Linked DNA regions of Homo sapiens: regions 1 and 2 are each linked to region 3. The links are contacts of gene promoters, found by promoter capture Hi-C in blood cells and fetal thymus (Javierre and others, 2016). All regions are on one chromosome and are shown on one strand. The core of a region is centred on a gene start or on the middle of the fragment in contact, and the rest is flanking DNA. Distances in the headings are between cores, read along the strand shown. Region 1 has its middle 4.7 kb from the start of RAB23. Region 2 has its middle 17 kb from the start of LINC03001. Region 3 holds the start of DST (dystonin).

Evidence for each region. The method cuts DNA at HindIII sites, captures the fragments that hold promoters and counts their contacts. A CHiCAGO score of 5 or more calls a contact.
Region 1: a fragment that was not itself captured here is called in contact with the fragment with the promoter of DST in region 3 in 7 of 17 cell types (erythroblasts, megakaryocytes, endothelial precursors and 4 more); the score reaches 7.6 in erythroblasts.
Region 2: a contact is called between a fragment that was not itself captured here and the fragment with the promoter of DST in region 3, in 12 of 17 cell types (megakaryocytes, erythroblasts, total CD4 T cells and 9 more). The highest score is 9.9, in megakaryocytes.

What each region holds. Positions count from the first base shown.
Region 1 is chr6:57,225,622-57,228,321 of GRCh38, reverse strand. It overlaps a transcript of PRIM2 not described here. Among named protein-coding and RNA genes, the nearest start is that of RAB23, 4.7 kb to the right of the region's middle. The HindIII fragment of the contact is 2,474 bases long and covers 78-2,551 here.
Region 2 is chr6:57,245,375-57,248,074 of GRCh38, reverse strand. It overlaps a transcript of PRIM2 not described here. Among named protein-coding and RNA genes, the nearest start is that of LINC03001, 17 kb to the left of the region's middle. The HindIII fragment of the contact is 1,298 bases long and covers 647-1,944 here.
Region 3 is chr6:56,953,533-56,956,232 of GRCh38, reverse strand. DST (dystonin) reads left to right here and starts at 1,403. Exons shown (of 104, transcript NM_001374736.1): 1 at 1,403-1,826; 2 at 2,414-2,448. The coding sequence starts at 1,646. BEND6 (BEN domain containing 6) reads right to left here and starts at 1,126. Exons shown (of 7, transcript NM_152731.3): 1 at 773-1,126. RefSeq lists a silencer at 938-1,627 and an enhancer at 1,789-2,420. The HindIII fragment of the contact is 5,182 bases long and covers 1-2,700 here.

The DNA.
Region 1 (2,700 bases), core at 65-2,564, 270 kb before region 3:
AGTGCATCAAACTATTCAGTCATACCTGATGCACATGGAAGCTCTACAACAATGTTATTTTCATGACCTAGGAAGCTTCATGAAAGTAATGAGTTTATACCACTTCATTACTGAAAAAATCAGCATTAAGACAGAACATTTTTATTTATCACCATCTGAGGCTTCTTTCTGGCTTCTAACTCTAGTTTTGTAGATCTTCTATAAGATATCAAGAAATAAAAACCAAAAACCAGGAGATGCATCAATATTTAAAGTGTTTTATATATTTGTTGAGTAGAAGTGGTTAAAAAATTAAGAATTAGTCCTGGTTGCAAAATAACTTTAAGCACAAAACCTCAATTACTGATTAATGTTGAAAAGATTATATTTAAGAGGTAAAAATATTCTGTCATGAGCATCAAGTATTTGATGCACAAGTATTAGCACAAGTAGAACATTTCCTCACCACTTTTTTGTGACTTAATAATTGTAAATCCAGGGAATGGGCAAGTGGATGAGTTTGAATTCATAACTGCCCATTAAGAGAATTGGATTCTTGTATCAAAACTACCTGTAGGGTATGTGACCTTTACCTACTTTATTTATATGTACAAATAAGGTTAATCAAATAGTCCTTCTACTTATTTTATGAGAGCACTGAGAAAAGAATTTATTTATTCTTTTTTTTTTTTTTTTTTTTTGAGATGGTCTCACCCTGTGGCTGAGGCTGGAGTTCAGTGGCATGATCTTGGCTCACTGCAACCTCCATCTCCCGGGTTCAAGCAATTCTCATGTCTCAGCCTCCTGAGTAGCTGAGATTACAGGCGTGCGCCACAACGCCCAGCTAATTTTTGTATTTTTAGTAGAGATGGGGTTTCACCATGTTGGCCAGGCTGGTCTTGAACTCCTGACCTCAGGTGATCCTCCTGCCTTGGCCTCCCAAAGTGCTGGGATTACAGGCGTGAGCCACTGTGCCCAGCCTACTGAGAAGAATTTAAATTATGGAATGGATGACAAAAACTTGATTGTGAATAAGCTCTTGAAAATGCATCAGATCACTGAAGCGAGGTGAACAAATGTTCCAACAGAAGTGTGAGGAAGAATATCACACAGACGTTTCCTTATTTACCATGAGCGAAGTTCTCAAAAGTCAGAGAGTTGTCTAGTCCAGCCCTTTCCATTAGAGAGGAGGTCTCTCAGTATACTAAGAGTATTTCAACAAAAGTAAATATATATATGAGAAAGACTTGGGCAGTAAAGAAAAAAAAAAGATTTTTATTTTCTAATTATTCTTTGTTAGTAAGGGCCCTAAATCTAGAAGTGTATATGCTGGAACACACTAGACCATAATACAAGAACAATCAAGGACAAAACAAAAAGGAATTTAGAATGAACAGATTATTCCCCGACTCACACTGTGAGGGGTTATAACTAGTCCCTTAGTGACCAATCTCAGCAAGGCAGTCATTCAAGAAACCTGCAAGTCACTCTTTACATTCCGTCTTTTTCCTACACCATAGCCAAATCCTATAGGTTCTACTTCCAAGATTAAAAACAAATGCACTTTTCTGTATCACCCCTGTAACCATCTCAGTCTAACCCTCCATCATCTCTTGCCTGAACCGGCCTTCCATTGCTCTCCCATTTTCCACTACTCTATGTTTTCCCTAGATAGCAGTCAGAGGAATTTTTTAAAACTGTCCAGTGGATCTCCTAGTCTGTGCACTAAAAAATCCTCCAATGGCTTCCCAATATACTTGAGATATAATCCAAATTACCTAATATGACCTGCAAGGTCTTCATGATCTGGCCCCTGCTTCCCTCACCACTGTTCTTTATTTTTTACATACCGCTTTCCACCTCACTCCTGCACACTGGCTCCCTTTCAATTATTCAAACCCAGTGAATTGTTTGCTGCCTCAGGCCATCGTACTTCCTGCTGTCTCTGCTTAAAGGCTTTTTCTGTCTATTCTTCACCAAACTCATTTATCTTTCAGATAACAGCTTAAAAATCACTGTATCAGAAAGGCCTTCCCTTGGTTCTCCAACATAAATTAGGGCTCCCTCTTACATGCTTCCATCATACCAGTTATTTACTTTCACATAATGTCTAAGGGTATGTAATCACTTATTTGTGTATATGTGTGCATATGTGTGTATTTGTATACTTTCTTTTTTGGTCTCCCTTAACACATTATAAGCTCCCAGAGGACACAAACCATCTGCCTTTTGTCTATTACTGAATACCCAATGTTCAGCACAGTCCTTGGCACAATATGTATTTTTTTTAATGGATAAATGACCTTGTAAGGTGGGTAACTCCTTACTATAGATGAGGATACTAAGATCCAAGGTTATTAAGCAACAGAAAAACTGAATCAGTACTCTAATGTCTGCCTAGAAAGTACTAGAAAAAATTTTTTTTCCAGCATGATCTGTTTGAATCTGAAGAACAGTAGATTATTATTGTCTAGCCAAATACTGTGATTTCTACTAGTTTTTTCCAGATGGCCACATATGCATTCATATGTATATGCAGACTTATATTCTAAGTGGTAAAATTTTCAAAGCTTTCTTTCTTGGAAGAAAATATTTTCTGATTTTTCTGTTTTTCTTTCTACTCAGCTACAATTCATGATCCTTGGACACTGTTCAGTTCATTAGAGTCAGACACAATGAAAGAACGAGCAAGGGAACAAATGGACATTTTTTGCTGGATCA
Region 2 (2,700 bases), core at 46-2,545, 290 kb before region 3:
GATCTTATGTACACTCCTTAATTCCTCACGTGATCTCATTTTGATCATTAGTACCTGATCCAATTATTTTTTGGCTAAATTCAAAATTCTAAAGCAAACATTGAATTATATGCTATATTAACTAATATACTGTACTCAGTGTCTTGATTTTTTTTAGTCTCATTATTCTTTCTGGATTTCAGAATGAAACTCATGCTCACCCACTAGTCAGGGCTACAAATGTATCCAGAATGACAGTTTATTTTTAAAAGCCCAAATAGTAGGATTCCCTTCTAGGGGAAATCCTTTGAGTCATACAGAAATTAGTTGCCAAAGGTTTCTAGGCCATATCAAAAGGAAACCTCAAGATTCTTTAAATTATTACTTGAAAATTTTTAGTGTCCAAAATGACAACCTAAGATAGGATTTTGATAGTCCCATGAAACACCTCCTCACACAGAGCAACCACATAGAGAACATTTGCATCTCTTCTGCAGCAGCTATAAATGAGAATTTATACTATTACAGCAGTTTTTGCTATTTCTCATGGGTGCCTTTGACATTTACCTAGTGCTCAAAATACACCAAAAATAATTTTGCTCTGAATAAGCCTCAACTATAACTCTGTAATTTATTTCATAATACTTTTTAATCTTCCTTCAAAGCTTACTCATTGATGGATAATTATTAAGCACTTTACAAATTCCCAAAATTATGTGTGGTATAAAAACAGAGCCTTGAAATTTGACAAGCCCTAAAACTCATCACAATCTATCTAGGCCCGAGAAATGATGAATAATCATATACAACTCAGTCAATGTCACCCCTAGATGTTATGGCAATGAAGGAGGGCTAGCCTGAAAGGGATAAACCTAGTTGCCCAGCCACGTAGGAAAGACGATGGATACTCTAGGTGCAGGCAATCAAGAAATCAAGTCCAGGCCGGGCGCGGTGTGGCTCACGCCTGTAATCCTAGCACTTTGGAAGGCCAAGGCGGGCGGATCACGAGGTCAGGAGATCAAGACCATCCTGGCTAACACGGTGAAACCCCGTCTCTACTAAAAATACAAAAAATTAGCCGGGCATGGTGGTGGGTACCTGTAGTCCCAGCTACTCGGGAGGCTGAGGCAGGAGAATAGCGTGAACCCAGGAGGCGGAGCTTGCAGTGAGCTGAGATCGCGCCACCGCACTCTAGCCTGGGCGACAGAGTGAGACTCCGTCTCAAAAAAAAAAAAAAAGAAATTAAGTCCAGGGAGATCATCTGGTACAGGAAGGAGCACATGAGTACTCTATGGGCAGATGCAGAAACTGGCAGGTGAGAGAATCAGCAGGCAGCAGAAATGGTTATCTTGATAGACATCTGCCCAGCTCTCCTTGCAACGGTGGGCTGGCTGCCCCTCCCTGTTCGAGCTGGTTGGTTATCACAGTGTTCTCTCTTCTCTCACCATTCCCCATTCACCTGAGTACAGGCATGGATTTATTAAACAGGCTTAGTAAGTTATAGTACCTACACCCTGATTAGTGCATTGGGGGTAACTGTGCGCTCTGGGGTTTTGAATTGTTGCAACACCATCCTGTCTTTCACTCCTGCTCCTCCCCCATCACCGATAGGACGGCGTATCTCCTGGAGATTGGAGAGGAGCTATTGGTAAGAGTTGGGCCAAAACAAAACTGAGCCAAACTGAAGCACTTCTCCAGCTGTATTTCACTAACATCTTAGGAAACTTATATACTAGCGTAGGTAGAATAGTATTCTTTCTAGTTTCATAGCCATTTTCTGTTGGCCTCTGGGAGTTTTTCACTTCAAATGTAAGTAGTTATACAGGAACAAAGAGAGTTGATACCTTTGAAACATAGACCAAGGAAACATAATATCTTCTCCCCCGTAAATGGGCTGCAGAACAAGTAACACAGGTTTCTATAACACATTTTGTTAACAATTAAATAAGTTACAGGAAGGAAGCTTAGAATAAGAGAAAATAAAATAGTAATTTATAAGGAACTGGAGTTTTTTACAGTGTTGAGATATATGATTTGTAGATATGTGGATAAATGGATGGATAGAGATGCATGTGATACAATAAGTGTGCAAGCACAAAAATAATAGTCTGTTGGCACAAAATCAGAATTAGATTTGTATGTTTTCTATGACTAGAGTGACACCAATCAACTAATCTTTCTCAATAATTTTAAAGCTGTAACTTTATATTAAAAATTCATTGTGCTGCCATTTATAATCAGGTAATCCAAGTGCACTCTCATGCCCCAAACCCCATCCCCTGCACTATCCCAAGACCACTCCCTCCACCTCCATATTCTGGCATCAGAACCTTTACATCTGCAGGCACTCCTGATCTGATAATTATGTTCTTACTGAGCTATTGTTTGATCCCTTCCTTTCCAGAGAAGAGGAAGTATTTCTGAGTGGAAGCAGTTACACCAGACCAGGAGCTTAGACTATCAAAATGCTATCTTAGGTTGTGCTCTAAGAGATGGAGAAAGAGAATCTAGGCTCAAAATCTACAAAACTGAAACCTGAAAGAGGGAAGACAGCAAGGCCTAAGTGGATGAAAGGTGGACATGAGTTGCAGTTCCCTGAGCTAACTTGGCAATTTGGTTACCAAACCTCACACAAAGGCTACCTTGCGAGTTTACTGGCACCTCCAGTGATGGCAAATATAACTAACCCATAAAGCATGTAAGAGGTAGGCAGGTGATGCA
Region 3 (2,700 bases), core at 154-2,653:
CTAATACAGTTGTTATAAGAAACTCCGCAAATGCAGTCAAGTGTTACCTTGTCACTATAATTAAAGTTTTCTTATGCGAGTAAATGAAACAAACAATCCAGCCCCACACAGGGAAAGCCAGCATTGCCTTGGGGGCAGCAGAACGCGGCACAGCACCGCCCGCCAAGGCCGCAAGATGCCGCAGAATGACTGCTGCAGCAGCCGCTTCCTGGCCAGGTGGCCGTGGCCGTCCGCAGAAAGGCACACTGCAGCGCTCTCGCTATACCTTCCGTGCTGGCATTGCATCAGTGTTAAATCCCCTGGCCACCAACTGCCATATACTTTTTGCTGGTTATGAAGAAACGTGGGGAGGGGACAAAGGGGAGACAGAGTGTGCCTGCAAGTGTGAGAGATCACTATTGCCTCACACTCCCTAAAAAATTTCTCCCCCAAATGTTTATAAGCCAAGTACCAACTTACTTCATCTGCCAGGTCCCTAAATCTGAAATCGCCTTGCCCTTCAAATGCACTAAATGAGTCAGGGTTTTAGGGCAAACCCAGGGATACAAGAAGATCGAAAGTGCCCAATTCTTAGCTGCGAGATAAGCACCAAGTTTGGGGTGGAAGAGTTCACCTCTGCCGACCAGAGCGTACTACCCCGGAGCGCTCCTAGTTTAGAGAGGCTTGGAGAGGAGTGGGCCTCCCGTTCCTGGAGTATCCCAATTCCCAGGGAAGGCCCTTCCCGGCGCTCGCGCTTCAGAGTGCGAGGAAACCCCCACAAGCAATAGCTCACCCGGCTGCATTCTTCAAAGCCCCAACCTCGGGGCGGGGCGCAGGGAGGTGGGAGGTGGAGGGTAGCACCGCCGGGAGGCTCCTGTCAGCGCCTCTCGGTTTTCCCCCTGGCTCCTTGGCGCCCCCTGACGACGGGCTCCGCAGCAATTTGGCCGAGGGAGGCTGGATAGGCGGAAGCTCCGGGTGTCCGGGAAGCTAGAGGCACCCGGCCAATGCACCCGCGGACGGCGCGGACTGGCGGGCGGCCCCGCGGGAGGGCGCTGGGCTCTCAGGCCCGGGTGCAGCCCGCGGACGCCGCCGAAACCGCCGCAGCCATGTCCGCGCGCCCGCGCTGCCGCAGCCTGGCCGTGATGTCATCAGCCGAGCCCCCGCCGCGGCGCCCCATTCCCGCCCCCCGCAGGCTGCCGCGGCTGCAGCCTGAGCGCCGCGTCCCCGCCCCGACCCACGTGCGCCCGGCTTCTGGGATGCTGAGGTCGGCGGCGGCCGCAGGACGATGCGCGGGGCCCGGGCGGCCGCGGCGGCGGCGCTGCTCCTCCCCACTCGCCGCGTCCCCGGCGGGGCTGCGCCCGGGGGCTGCGCACGGACGGGGGCGGGGGCGCCTGGGGAGGGAGGGGAGAGGATCCCAGCCGCCGAGTCGCAGCCTCGTCGCTGTCTGCTGAGTCATGGCAAGCGCTCCCCGCAGCCCTGGATCACTCGCGTAGCGCGGCTGGCGCGGGGTGCGCAGCCATTGGGCTGGGCGCGGGGCCGCGAGCGCCAGGCATGACGCGCTGAGCCGCGCTCACCCGTGCCCGCCGTCCCGGCGTGCGCCCAGCGCGGGTGCCTGTGCCGCCGCCCTCCAGCCCCGCCGTCGAGTCGCCCTCGCCTCGCCCGCACCATGATCGCCGCGGCTTTCCTCGTCTTGCTGAGACCCTACAGCATCCAATGTGCCCTCTTCCTCTTGTTGCTTCTGCTGGGCACCATCGCCACCATCGTCTTCTTCTGCTGCTGGCACCGCAAGCTCCAGAAAGGGAGGCATCCGATGAAATCGGTCTTCTCGGGTCGTTCAAGAAGCCGAGGTAAGACACGCCGCGACGGGTTTCTGCGGGCTACCAGGAACAATTAAGCCGATTTGGAGAGTGAAGCGCGGCTCGCTCCCTTCTCCTCGGCTGCCCCTAGCCCCATCATTGCCCACTCCCCAGGCTGAGTGCGTTTCTTTAACGCCCCTTGCCCTTTTTGCCGTCACCTCCGCCCTCCAGTCTCCCAGGTTTGAATAACCACGGCGATGCCGAGGGCAGGGAGGGGAGGAAAGAACTCAAATTTTTAGTCAGTTTGCTAAAGCCTTAAGGGTAATTTGAGCGTAGTCCGGGGCTGCGCCAGCCTCGCCTTCACGCATCCTTCGCTGGAGCGTAGGGGTAAGAAAGTAAGGCATGGAAACTTCGGGGCTCCCCAACTCCCCCAGAACTTTCATGCAAACTTCTCGCGGAGAAATCACGTAGAGACCGATGGCCCCAGGACTCCTCCTCCCTCCCCCAGGATGTCCCACCGAATTCCAGGAGTCTGCGATGTGCTTTCCCAACCCTGGTCTCCCAGGTAAGTCATGAGTCACTCGGTAGGTGAAGAACAAGGAGTTAAATGAAGTCTCATTTATCTCTTTTCTCCCCAGATGCTGTTTTGAGATCGCACCACTTTCGTTCTGAGGTAATTTATTTAGCGCGCACGCTCAAGGTCAGAAGAAGTTCTCTTTCCTGAGTACCAATATTAATTATATGCGTGTTAAGAAACCAGTAGGACACTGAATGACGAACATGCTGTCCCCTAGCCGAAAGTGGCATGTTTCCTTTTAAGTGATTTCATATTAGTGCCCAGCGAACGGTTTTAGCAAATTTCTTGTGTAGTGGAGCTGTTGTACAAGAGGGGAAAAGGCAAACCCTAAAAGTGCTGCAGACCTTA